Regions from separate parts of the Homo sapiens genome. Here region 2 is linked to region 1. Evidence: promoter capture Hi-C in human tissues and cell types (Jung and others, 2019). All regions are on one chromosome and are shown on one strand. The core of a region is centred on a gene start or on the middle of the fragment in contact, and the rest is flanking DNA. Distances in the headings are between cores, read along the strand shown. Region 1 holds the start of LILRA2 (leukocyte immunoglobulin like receptor A2). Region 2 holds the start of LOC105372460 (a long non-coding RNA gene).

The links. The method cuts DNA at HindIII sites, captures the fragments that hold promoters and counts their contacts. A contact is called where the count stands out against the background at its distance.
Region 2: a fragment that was not itself captured here is called in contact with the fragment with the promoter of LILRA2 in region 1 in 2 of the 25 tissues and cell types used here (lymphoblastoid cells and spleen).

Annotation. Positions count from the first base shown.
Region 1 is chr19:54,568,271-54,575,164 of GRCh38, forward strand. LILRA2 (leukocyte immunoglobulin like receptor A2) reads left to right here and starts at 5,520. Exons shown (of 8, transcript NM_001130917.3): 1 at 5,520-5,642; 2 at 5,806-5,841; 3 at 6,031-6,312; 4 at 6,461-6,763. The coding sequence starts at 5,609. LOC107985347 (a long non-coding RNA gene) reads right to left here and starts at 4,558. Exons shown (of 2, transcript XR_002958419.2): 1 at 4,466-4,558; 2 at 1,121-3,023. It overlaps LOC105372461 (a long non-coding RNA gene), which reads left to right. Exons shown (of 3, transcript XR_936073.3): 3 at 3,148-3,442. The HindIII fragment of the contact is 16,909 bases long and covers 1-6,894 here.
Region 2 is chr19:54,521,030-54,527,923 of GRCh38, forward strand. It overlaps LOC105372460 (a long non-coding RNA gene), which reads right to left and starts at 6,081. Exons shown (of 4, transcript XR_001754038.3): 1 at 5,885-6,081; 2 at 5,531-5,735. The HindIII fragment of the contact is 4,451 bases long and covers 2,161-6,611 here.

The DNA.
Region 1 (6,894 bases), core at 4,270-6,769:
TAATGTGCTCCACAGAATAGTAAAAAATTTTGCAAGCAGGTTGTTTGGCTGACTGGAGCTGAAACTCTTCCCCAAGTCTTCAGGCTGTTTGTCCTGCAGATTTTGGACTCACCAAGTGCCAACAATTACATGAACCCATTCCTAGATAGCAAGATAAGTAGATATAGATATGCACATATGTACATATATCGGTTCTGTTTCTCTGGAGAACACTTACAAATACATAATTTGATCATAGGAATGATTCTAGATGAACTGAATCTTAATATGTTTTGTCTACTGTTTCTGAGGTTTATGGAACTGGCTGTCTGATTAGATTTAAAGACATTAAGACAGTATGACAGAAACAGAAAGAGAAAGAAAGAGAAAGGAAGAAAGGAAGGAAGGAAGAAGGAAGGAAGGAAGTCTGTGATAGTCCGTGGCATGATGTGGCATTAGGGGTACACCACTAGATGCTCCTAATCCTACACTTATAAGGAACGAGAATCTGGGTGGCCTTGCATACACCTTTGAAGATTGTTGTCAAACTATTAAGTATAGTATGTGTGGCTGTTTTGTCATTGGATAAAGAGGTAAAGAAAAAGATGAGCCCAGAGATTAGAATTTCCAGTTCAAGCACCACTACATAAATATCTGAGGTTTCTATGTGTGCCCTGAAAGAGACTCTTATCATCTGTAGCTGTAGGGGTGAGATTGCTGAAAATCAAACCGAGAATCTCATCCTTGAAGTGGCTGTATTACAATTCAAGCGGAGTCCCCAGCCTCACAGGGTATCTACTGTTCAAGTAATGCCATTGGTCAGGAATGGGTGAGATCTTGAAAGATGGAATGAGGATGTATATTAAGACCCTGATACAGCTGAGGATATCAAGCCCCTAACTTTGAATGAGTCTTCTTTGCCAATAGAAGCATCCTCTCTATCTGCAAGGGAGGAGATTAACCCTGTACTGTCTGAGGAAACAATACTGGCCTCCCCTGAGGCAGTTGCCATGCAAGGCTATGCTGATTCTCCTTAGGATACATCCTGACCAACCCTCTTTGCTTCTAGACCTATAACTAGATTCAAGTCTCGCAGGCCCTGAAAAGTGTGTTACAAAGTGTGGCTCATGAGAAGTTGTGCTACACTCCAAAGTAATTTATTTATTTTTCTAATTTATCCATACAGAAGTCTGAGGAACACGTGTCAGAGTGGATATTAAGGGTTTAGGATAATGGTGAAAAGAACATAAAGTTGAGTCGGACCGAATTTATATATATAAGCTCACTAAACAGAGATTGCACATTTAATGTTGCATCTTGGAGAACCGGAAATGATTCTACCAGTTTGTCTGGTTGATTGGCTGAAACATGGAGCAAAAGCTGGCCTGCAGTAAATAAACTCAAAATGCCAGACATGCCTTGGTTTGCTGCAGAGGAATTAACTTAAAGGCTTAGGAAGACTGTAATGTTACCATGCATGTATCAAACCTAGTAACCCACATTGGAAGCATCAGAAGATGTATCTTTCAACAATATTGCAAAGGGAGCTCTGGCATCCTTGAGGAGCTCTGTGATTTCTCTTCTCTGGAAGCTGGAACCTACAGTGGAACTGCTGAATTTTAAAAAATCTAAATGTAATGGGAGTAATTTGGCCCCTACCTCTTGGCCCCCAGAGAGACAGGGGCCAAGTAGAGGAACTCAGCCACCAAAGGCAAGGTGGGTTTGGTTACCATGATGGACAGCAAAGTCAAACCAGCGATCGGAATAGTCCCGCAGACTTATGGTGTTGGCTAGTTGATCACGGCATTCTAACAAGGGAGATAGATAGGAAACCTACTAAATTCTCACTTGATCTGTATAAGCAGAAAATTTCTATGTCAAGTGAACAAAAGTCAACCCAAATCATAAAAGCAGAGAGCCACAGTCTCTCAATCAATGGCTAGCACTGAGTCAGTTCATAGAGCCAGAATCCCCTGAATTAAAGGGATCCCAGGCAGGGTTCCCGTGAGGGCACTGTCCCTGGTACACTACCAAGAATATATACTCTTAATCTTTCTCCTGGACTTTGGTTAAAGGGACCTGCAGCCTTTTACAATGGCAATGGAGCCTTGGGGAAAATAATCAGATAATTTGGGCATTACTGGAAATGGGGTATGAACTGACATTAATTCCAGGAGACCCGAAACGTCACTGTGGCCCTCCAGTCAGAGTAGTGGCTGCTAGAGGCAAGGTGATTGGTGGAGTTTGAGCTCACGTGTTCCATAGTGAATCCAGTGTATCCCTAAACCCACCCTGTGGCTGTATCCCCAGTTCCAGAGGGCAACATTGGAATAGACATATTCAACAACTATCACAACCCCCACAGTGGTTCCCTCACTTGTTGAGTGAGGGTTATTAGAGTGGGCCCAGTGGGAGCCACTAGAACTGCCTCTTCCCAGCTAAACTGTAAACCAAAAGCAGTCTTGCATTCCTGGAGGAATTCCATATATTGGGACTTGAAGCGTGCAGAGACAGTGATTCCCACAACCTTGCCATTCACCTCTCCTATTTTACCTCCACAGAAGACGCAGGGATCTTGGATAATGATATTAGATTATTGTAAGCTTAATCAGATCCAATTGAAGATGTTGTAACAGATGTGGTTTTGTAGTTTGAGCAAATTAATACATCCCCTGATACCCAGTATTCAGCCATTGATGTGTTAAATATTTTTTTCTCCATCACTGTTAATAAGAACCATCAGGAACAGTTTCCTTTCATTTGGCAAGGGCATCAGTACACCTTCACAGTCCTACCTCAGGGTCTGGGAAAGCACCTGGGGGTTGTGATCGGGGTCTCAGTGGCCTTCAGCTGGTGCTCTTCCTCCTCTTCTTTCTCCTCTGACACTGGCCTCAGGGCCAACACAGGACATTGGGTGAGTAGGAAGTTGGCGGGGAGACCCATGGGCTGACTGAAGGTGGGGTCAGGGCACCACCAACCAGACAGATTCCAGATGGGAAAGTTCAGCTCAGAAAAACGGCTCCAGCATTTCCCAGTGAGAAAACCTAGAAAGAAGAGAATAAATGTGAACATACATGAACATACCTTATTCTTTTGGTTGTTTCATCTAACGACGTTTTTAAAACATCTATGCAAGTGTGTTTTCAGCTTTCCTTCTTTTCTCTTGAGTTCTCTGTGCAGGGCAGGTGGCTCTCATGATCCCAAGGCTGAAGCTCTGTCCCTCTTCACCCAGCCCAGAGGGAGGCTGATTTCCAAAGTCCTGTGGGGACTGTGGAGTCAGAGAACGACAGAGGCCTGTGGAGGAGGTAATTCTGCCCGAAGACCCCAGACGCCCACCTACCCCCACAACCTCCTCACTGGCCCTCACACTCCCATGTCCTTCCCCGGGTCCAGCCCAGCTGCTGATGTCCAGGAAGAAAACTTCTGTGACAGGAAGAGGGGGGCACCTGAGGGTGGAGACAGAAGCCCCAAAGTTTCGGTAGCAATGATAGCAGGGGAAAAGGCTGAGAAGGGCTTGGGACTCTTTTATATAATATATAAATTAATATAAAAATTAATTCACCTTCACAATGTCTGTCTAATGCATTTCAACAACTGTCTGTGTTTTCCTCATGTATCTTGGTTGTCATTCCTGTGGGGCGGCTCCTCCCACGCACCTGACCTTTCATAAAGGGTTTCTCCCACGGCTGTCCAGGCATCAGCCTGATGAAGGGGATTGTTGCCGCTGCTCCTCCCCACTCCCCCAAACTCAGTGTCAGCTCAAGATTGTGCCCAGCAGGGATGGGACCAACGCCAGTCTCACACTCACCTGTGGGGCAGAGCAGACGCCCATGTCAGACCACCGTGGATTGAATCTGTTTCTCACACACAGGGGAGGGGCTGAGCACTGACCATGGCCTCCAGTGAGTGAGCAGAGACCCCCCAGCGCCTGTCCACACACACAGGGGAGGGGGAGCCACAGCTTCCAGCGTCACCCAGAGCCCTGACCCCTCCCTGCCTGGGAGGACGTGGGGTTCCTCTTCTGTCCCACACGGAGGTGGGAGCCTCCTCCTCCCTAATGACCCTGGGTGGTCCCAGACACCTGTGGCCACTCAGCATTGAACTCTGCTCATGGAAGGGGATGCGTCTCAATGTGAGGAACTGTTCTTCCTCTTTCTGTGCCCGTGGCTGTGATGATCTGCATATTTCAGATGTATCACAAGGAGAATTTCATGGTATTTGGAGCCGATGTGGGCTCTTGAGTGGGGGCGTCAATCATCCTCCTGGACTGTGGAGCCCAGCACCAGGATCCTCTCCCGTCCCCACCCTCCTGTCTGAACTGGTCTGGAAATTCACCATGGCTGAGCCTCCCATGTCCTGGGCACCACTGACCCCCACAGCCACTGTGATGAGTGGGGTTCACGACAGCAGGCTCAGAGGTGACATTCATGTCCAAAGTCACATAAACCCTGGATGATAATCAGGAATTAAATACAAATCAGCTCACCTTCCCCAGAATCAGATTACAGACCTAACAAATTCTTCTGAAAACTCTGAACATGGACGGAGGTGCCGAGGGAAGGCCAAGGACGCAAGGGACACTGAGGGGGCGGGACCGACTCAGAGCCTCATTCCCGGGGTGGGGGTGGGTGATGTTGCAACAAAGAGAAAAGGGGAAGTACAGGAGAGGGACGGTTTGGTAGGAAGGAAACACACACTCTCAAGACAGAACAAATATGTTTTATTATAGTTAATCCCTGCATTTCCCCTTTTGAGACAGGGTCTCACTCTGTCACTGAGGCTGGAATGCTAAGGGGTGATCATAGCTCCCTGCAGCCTCCGCCTCCCAGGCCGAAGTATTCCTCCCACCTCAGCCTCCTGAGTAGCTGGGACTAGAGATGTGAGCTGCCATGCCTGGCTAATTTTTTGCTTTTTTTATACAGACAAGGTCTTGCTATGTGGCCCAGGGTAATCTGAAGCTCCTGGCCTCTAGCCTTCACCCACCTCAGCCTCCTGAAGTGCTGGGATTCCAGGCATGAGCCACCATGGTAGACCCTGCATTACTCCTCTGTGCTCACTGCCACACGCAGCTCAACCTGAGCTACACAGCCAGGTGTCAGGTGCGTCTCTGCTGATCTGAGTCTAACTGCAGCATGGACCTGGGTTTTCCCTGAAGCATCTCCAGGGCTGGAGGGACGACCGCCATGGTAAGGACCCCGCAACGCTGAGCTGATGGACGGGCTGAAGGAGGGAGGGAGACCCCATGGGGAAGCTCTGAGAAGGAAGAGGAAGCCTCTGCTCACCCTCATCTGGAAGGGCAGACGCAGGAGGGCACCAGTTCTATTTGCTGCTACATCCCAGGTCTCAAGGAGATGAGGATAAACCAGACAGACAGTGGCTGGGGGGCAGGAAAGACCCCATTACAGTCTGAAATGTCTGCAGAGGGCCTGGTGCCTGCCCCCACCTCAGCCCTAAAGGTATGACAGCCAGGCTCCTGAGAGGGCAGTTGCACTTCCTGTGTGGTTGCACATAACAAAACCCCATGACAAGAAGGATCCAGCCTCCGAGTGTCCACACCCTGTGCGTCTCTCTGTCCTGCCAGCACTGAGGGCTCATCCATCCGCAGAGCAGGGCAGTGGGAGGAGACGCCATGACCCCCATCCTCACGGTCCTGATCTGTCTCGGTGAGATTTGAAGAGGGAGGGGAGCTTCTAACCTAGGAGGGACCTCACCCCACAGCCAAACTCTGGTCCCTAAGGAGACCCCAGGGGCTCACAAAGATCCCAGGGAGGGGAGGACCTGCCCAGGCTTCAGGGGAAAAATCCCTCACAGGGAACTCTCTTCCAGGGCTGAGTCTGGGCCCCAGGACCCACGTGCAGGCAGGTGAGTCTGTTCCCAGCTGTCCCAGGTCCCTCCTCCTCACTAGGGACAAGGGGCCACCCCCGTGCAGCTGGGGATGGGGAATAGCAGTTCTGGGCTGACTGATGGGGGTGTCTGGAGGGTCCTGCAGCTGAGAGCTGAGATCTGTTGGGTGGGAAATGACTTAGAATCCGACCTCTGATTTCCTTCCAGGGCACCTCCCCAAGCCCACCCTCTGGGCTGAGCCAGGCTCTGTGATCATCCAGGGAAGTCCTGTGACCCTCAGGTGTCAGGGGAGCCTTCAGGCTGAGGAGTACCATCTATATAGGGAAAACAAATCAGCATCCTGGGTTAGACGGATACAAGAGCCTGGGAAGAATGGCCAGTTCCCCATCCCATCCATCACCTGGGAACACGCAGGGCGGTATCACTGTCAGTACTACAGCCACAATCACTCATCAGAGTACAGTGACCCCCTGGAGCTGGTGGTGACAGGTGAGAGGACACTCAGGAGTCCCAGCCCCAGGCTCTGCCCTCAGGAAGGGGGTCGGCTCTCAGGGGCATCTCCGCTCTCACAGCTCAACCCTGGGGATGATGTGGGAGGTGGGAGCCCCATTTAACACAGTGCCTCCTTCTCTCCTAGGAGCCTACAGCAAACCCACCCTCTCAGCTCTGCCCAGCCCTGTGGTGACCTCAGGAGGGAACGTGACCCTCCAGTGTGTCTCACAGGTGGCATTTGACGGCTTCATTCTGTGTAAGGAAGGAGAAGATGAACACCCACAACGCCTGAACTCCCATTCCCATGCCCGTGGGTGGTCCTGGGCCATCTTCTCCGTGGGCCCCGTGAGCCCGAGTCGCAGGTGGTCGTACAGGTGCTATGCTTATGACTCGAACTCTCCCTATGTGTGGTCTCTACCCAGTGATCTCCTGGAGCTCCTGGTCCCAGGTGAGAAATTCACAGAATTGCTTGGAGTTCCCTGAGTCTCCCTGAGTCTCCAGGCAGGTGGGGAGCAGCCGCGTCTCAGGGCAGCTCCAGGTGGGATGATGTTGGGGCGAGAGGGCTCAGGGCTCCTGGGG
Region 2 (6,894 bases), core at 3,136-5,635, 48 kb before region 1:
AGCAGCAGTGAGGGTCTGGAGTAGGGGGCTGGGAGGAGGCTGATGTGGTGACAGAGACACGATGTCTTCAGTCTCCAGCTGAGCTTGGACTGTGGGGATGGGTCAGGGGACGTGGGTGAGGAGGGACTCGGGGAAAGAGCTGTTTGGATTTGTTCACGGTGTGGGGAGCAGAAGAGCGTGAGGAACTGAGAGTTGCTCCAGTCTCTGCCTTGGTTCACTGGAGGAGCCGATGGGGCTGTCTCGGGATGGATGACCCCAGGAGAAGCAGCAGGCAGGGGAGGTGTTGATAAGATGGATAACTGGCCTCAGAGAAAGCAGAGCCTCCCTCCAAGCCCGAGTGTGTGGTTTTGTTCCTCCCAAACACTTCCTTCATCTGACTTCCTTTGTTCTATAATTAGCAGCACCTTCTCTTCATTCTTCTCTTTCAAAACCTCTGATTCATTTCTACCTCCTCACTACAGTGTGTTTTCTGAAAGTTCTCAAAGCACAGACTAATTCCCATTTTCCAGGAGAACCACACATTTCATATGGCTTCAAGCCAGACAATGGGAATCCACGCAGAGAGAACATGCACGCACACAAACAGGAAGGACGCAGACGGGCTTTGGGGGTGACGAGGGACAGCTTCACCCTGAGGTCTCAGGCGAGGGGTGAGGAAGGAGACTCATGTGAACTCCTCTGTCTCTGCTCTCAGGCTTGTTCACAAAACCCTGCATCTCAGCGCACCCAAGCCCCCTGGTGCACGCAAGAGCCAGCGTGAGCCTGCGCTGTCACTCAGAGCTGGCCTTTGATGAATTTATCTTATACAAAGAGGGGCACACACAACATTCCCAGCAGTATGGTAGGATGATCCAGGCTGGGGATCACTCCTTCAAGGCTGTCTTTTCCATGGGTCCTATAACGCCTGCCCGTGCAGAAGCCTATAGGTGCTGTGGCTGTTTCAGTCACTCCTGCTATGAGTGGTCGGCTCCCAGTGACCCCCTGGACATTGTGATCACAGGTGAGTGTGGCTGGACCATTCATGGTCTTTTGGTGCCCAGGAAACTCCCCAGGGTGATGTGGTTGTTGATCAAACCGCCAGTAGAGGAAGAAAAATACCAGAACATAGAAACACCAAGTAACTTATTAGAGGGCCAGAGGAGGGGATGAAGGAAAGGGGGAGAAACAGAGAACTTGTGATAGTTAAAGAGAAAACAAGTTAGACAGTGACAGAGAATGTGAAACAGATATTGAGAGAGATTCGCAAACATAGACAATGCCTCCTCCTGACCTCTCACCTGTGTCCTCAATGCCTCCTCCTGACCTCTCACCTGTGTCCTCAGTGCATCCTCCTGACCTCTCACCTGTGTCTTCAGTGCCTCCTCCTGACCTCTCACCTGTGTCCTCAGTGCCTCCTCCTGACCACTCACCTGTGTCCTCAAACATCACTTCCTCATGACTCCCTTTCCGCAACAGAAGAGCTATGCCAGTCTATTTTCTAATCACCCACAGCCAAGGAATGATTCCACATACGAATGTCATAGTGCGTAGTTACCTGTTTTGTAGTTATTTCTAGACATCTATCACATCCCCTAGACTAGCAGGGCTCACAGGACAGGATCCATGTCAGTGAAGCGTATGCTTTATTTTTCATTCTTGGTTAATTGTATGAAATAAGGTTGACATTTATAGACATATGCTGGCAGAATGGATGGAAGCATGGATGGACTATAAATGGACAGACACAGAGGGAAGAGTTGATGATGTATTCAGTATTCAAATGCACACTTAAAATCTGTCGTATATCAAGCCAGCAACCTCTCCTGCTGCTTTCCCCCTTGAATTCTGGGATATTCAGCTCTGCTCTCAGTTTCCTGGCTCAGGGATTTCCTCCTTGTCCATTTTGCCCAGGTGAGACGCACACAGAGATCACAAACTCAGATCAGCCTGACAAATCCTAAAGCAAAATCATACCTGCAGCATTGACTATATAATCCACTGGACCCCATGCAAAATGAAAATAGAGGGCCCCATGTTCAAACATCAAGATGTCAACACGAGGGCATTAAACTCAGCTTGGAACTCTGATGGCACGGCTCCTGGACAGTGAAGCCAGCCCTGCACAGAGACATAAGCAATTGGGGGATTGCACACAGCATATACCAGGCACCTCGAGATCCCAGAGCTGCATGCACCCAACACACGCCAGGTATTCCAGATGCATCAGACAGAAAGTGCCCCTGGAGGTGATGGTTGCAGATCTGGGGGCCTCCAAAGCCCACTTCGCCACTCTCTGCTTCAGTCGTCATACTGGACATGGACTGTGTCCCTGCACAGACCCTGTGTATACCTAGTCCGTTCACTGCACTGCAGGGACTCAGACTTGGTAACTGAGTGTATGAATGTGTATGAATGAAAATAGCATGTTGATTGTGTTGGATTATCTTTACTTAACAAAGTGGCATGCAGTTTTATGAAGTTTTAAATGGAATAAATAGTGACGTCTTCACATAAGCCTCCTTAGGAAGTGACTAATATCACCCACGCTTACAGGATGAGGAGGTTGAGCTTCACAGCTTGTGCAGCAGGCTGAGAGTCACGGAGCAAACAGGCCGCAGATCCTGGAATGAGCCCAGGCTGGCAGAGGTCAGAACCCAGTCTTGTGACCACAATGCTTTGCCACCTGTGTTAGCTTCCTGGGGCTGTCCTAACAAAGTCCTGCAATCTGCGTGGCTTAACACCACAAAATCAATTCACTTATAATCCTGGGAAGTAGAAGTTTGCAAGTAAGGTGTCAAGGAGGCCATGCCCACTCTGTAGGTTCTAGGAAAGAATCCTTCCACATCCCCCCCACCTTTTTTTTTTTTTTGAGACAGAGTCTTGCTCTGTCACCCAGATCTGTGGAGCGATCTTCTCTCACTGCAACCTGCACATCCTGGGTTCAAGTGATTCTCATGCCTCAGCCTCCCGAGTAGCTGGGACTACAGGTGTGCACCACCACACCTGGCTAATTTTTGTATTTTTTTAATTTAATTTTTTTTTGAGAGAGAGTTTCACTCTTGGCATCCAGGCTGGAATGCAATGGTGAGATCTTGGCTCACTGCAACCTCTGCCTCCTGGGTTCAAGTGATTCTCCTGCCTCAGCCTCCCAAGCAGCTGGGACTACAGGCATGCGCCATCATGCCCAGCTAATTTTTGTATTTTTAGTAGAGATGGGGTTTCACCAGCTGGTTTTGGCCAGGCTGGTTTCAAACACGTGATGTCAAGTGATCTGCCCACCTTGGCCTCCCAAAGTGCTGGCATTACAGGTGTGAGACACTTCCTGGCCCCAAATCATTCATTCATTCATTTATTCATTCTTCATTGAGTCATTCGGTAATTCCCCGTATAGTTACTAATCACTAAATGTGTGCCAAGTACGGGGCTCCTCACTTCGTACAATTACGGTATATTGTAGACACAAAGAGTGTCTTCATGGTGGGAACTGGAGGAGAAACAATGAAAAAGTGGAGAAATAGAAATAAATGACATCAATGATAAATTTTATGAAAGAAAATGTTAAAACTAAACCATGAAAACTAATACAGAAGCCTACTTGCCTACGGTGGTAAGGAAAGAAATCTTGGAGCTGGTGATATTTGCACTCAACAGTGATATGAGGTGTGGGGAGAGGGATGGAAGTTGAGATAGAGAGAAGAGCACGTGCAAAAGTCCTGGGGTGAGGGAAATGTGAAGGATCCATTTCTTTTGCTGTAAATAAGACAACATACTGTCCTGAGTGTACGTGGGTATTTATAAAGTAATAATATTTATCTAAAACTTGGAGTGAAGTATCTGAATGAACGTATGCTTCGAGTAAGGGTTATAAACCATTGTGTCTATTTATGTACAGATGAGAATACCACATATTCCAGCCCTGCCGTGAAGGAAAGGTGGAATCAGAGATGAGGAATCTTCAGCTCAGATAGGAGACACACAGAAAGGTTTGCATGTGGAAGTGCCAGCCTGTCAACCTCTCCAGAGGCTCCAGAAGTGAGGCCAGAATTTTGATGATAGGAGATAGACTTTGGAGGTCATCACCCACATCCCCTGTCATGGTCACTGTCATTGTCCCTATTCCAGGCAGTCAGAAGGAAAAATGAAGGATGAACATAATGCGTTGGGTTCAATGGGCCAGGGCTGGAAGCAGCCACCTCTCCTGGGCAAAGCCTCAATTTCACAGATCTTCTCAGGTGAGAATTGAATCACTGCAAATGAAAAGCTTGCCCTTGGGTTGTGTCGACAGGTTTGAAGCAGGCAGGGAAATCTATTCATGGCAGAGATATAAACGGTCCCTTTATTCTATGGGTGGATGTGGATCAAGAATTCTAGACACACAGGGTGAAGCCTGTGTCCAAACTAATAGGACCTTCACACTGTTTTCAGCATGGAGAGCTCACAAGTATTGGAGGATTGGGAGAATGGGGTGTCTAGAATAACGTAAAGCAACAGGAAGCTTGATTCACCCAGATGGGTAACCTGAGCATATGCCCTCCTATGGATCAGCTCAGGAATTCCACGCTGGCTTCAACACAAAGGCCTTTTCACCCGTGCTTGCTAACATTCAGATTCCCATTAAAGATGTGTGTTTTTAATTAATCATTTCAAATAAAACCTTGACATTATTTTGCATTAATTTTTCATGTTTAAGTAATTGGTTTAATCGAGAAACGGAAGTGCATGAGGCAGATACTAAGTTAGTTAGGTCATTGCAAATATTTAGTTGGACTTTTATCATCCCTCGGCCTCAGATTTTCTGAAGCCTCTGATGCCGTTCACCCCTCTGACCTACGTGAAAGTAGCTCTTATCTTGTTCACCTTTTGGACCTTGTTTCAAAAGTAATGATAGAAATGAGCAGTCCAGTTGAGAAAACAAGATACTCTGGGAGGGTAGGTGCTGAAAATTCTTGGAGAAACCAAAGCTGAAGACAAGACTCTCAATCAATTGATCTTGGCAAGGAATTGTGTTTTCTCTCTTCACTGTTTAATACTGGTCAATACAATTATGGATGTTTTGATCTGGAGTGATTCTTTGTTAACATCTCTCGTATTCATCCAGAGAATGTAAATAAGGGCATAAAACAAATGTAAATATTCCTATGATAAAATAATTATTCTGCTATGGAGAATATTGGATCTTGCTCCTTAGCGTGGGTTATTTGGGTGAAACACTGAGAAACATGAATGTCAAAGAGTCCTACACTGTGAAACCCCGTCTCTACTAAAAATACACACACACACACTCACACACACAAATTTGCCGGGCGTGGTGGTGGGCGCCTGTAGTCCCAGCTACTCAGAAGGCTGAGGCAGGAGAATGGTGTGAACCCGGGAGGCGGAGCTTGCAGTGAGCCGAGATCGCGCCACTGCACTCCAGCCTGGGGGACAGAGTGAGACTCCGTCTCAAAAAAAAACAAAAACAAAAACAAAAAAACAGTCCTAAGCTTTCTAGGACCAAGGAAGCAGCTACTCACTCGCAATCGCTAGAGTGTTCCCATCTTCCAACACCCACCTTGATTTTCTCTAGTCCAGCAATGAGTCAGGTCTCAGCATGGTCGAAGCAGGGAAGGAGCATCTCATGCTGCTTTCCTTGTGGTCATACCTTGCCAATGCCACTTCCAGAGGCAGGTTTTTCATTCCTTCTTTCAGCTTTCAGGGTCTGGATACTCTGAGGACACTGGTTTTGCCTCTGTGCATTGATGAATGCCTCCGTTAATCTGCAAGTGAAGAGTAAGGAAATTGCTTTTCACACATTACTTAGAGGGCTTTTGGTACTGTCAGCGAAGGACACTTGTCTGATGATATCGATGTCAACCACAACTTGCAAAATATCCCATAGACTCAAATTTTAGGAAACTATTCTAACCAAAGCTCATCATCTGAAAGCTGTTGCTCTATGCACAGGGTCCTGGGCTTCTCTGTGTGTGGCTCTTCCCCCCACACAGGAGACCCATCCTCTCGTGAGATCTTCACCCTGCGCAGGAGACCCGTCCTCTCCCGAGATCTTCGCCCCGCGCGGGAGATCCGGCCTCTCCCGAGATCTTCACCCCACGTAGGAGACAGGTCCTCTCGCGAGATCATCACCCCATGCAGGAGACCCGTCCTCTCGCGAAATCTGCACCCCTAGCATGAGATTCCCTCCTATCGCGAGATCTTCACCCAACTCAAGAGACCCGTCCTCTCCCGAGATCTTCAAGGCACGCGGAAGACCCGTCCTCTCGCGAGATCTTCCATGCGATGGCTCCTGCCTCTGCTCATATCCAAACTCCTCCTCAGCCAGGTGTCTGATGACTCCACTGCCATCATCCCAGAAATTTGTTCCTAGAGAACACAAACAAATTTCTTCTCTATTCTTCATACCAAAGAAAATACTATGATATTTCTGCATGTTTATATTATTGTTAAGTGAACGGCAGTAATTGCTTATCTTCCAAAACGAAGAGCTGAGTAATGATATATCTTTAAACTCCATCCTTTTGACAGTGATTGAAATGGACAAAACAGTAGAAAGTAGAGCTGATATGTGTGATCACTTTTAATGACACAGATTAACAGTGAAAACCACAAAGACCTGTGGTACTTGTATCTAGGTAGTAGAACATTGGCCTGTAAACACAGCACTTCGGGAGGCCGAGGCAGGTGGATTGCCTGAGGTCAGGAGTTCGACACCAGCCTGCACAACATGGCGAAACCCCGTGTCTACTAATGATACAAAAAATTAGCTGGGCATGGTGGTGCAAACCTGTAATCCCAGCTACTCGGGAGGCTGCCAGATCCAGCCACGAGACACCTTTCAAAAAAAAAAAAGAACTTGGTGTATAAGATAATTTTTACACTGCCATAAAGAACTACCTGAGACTGGGTAATTTATGAAGA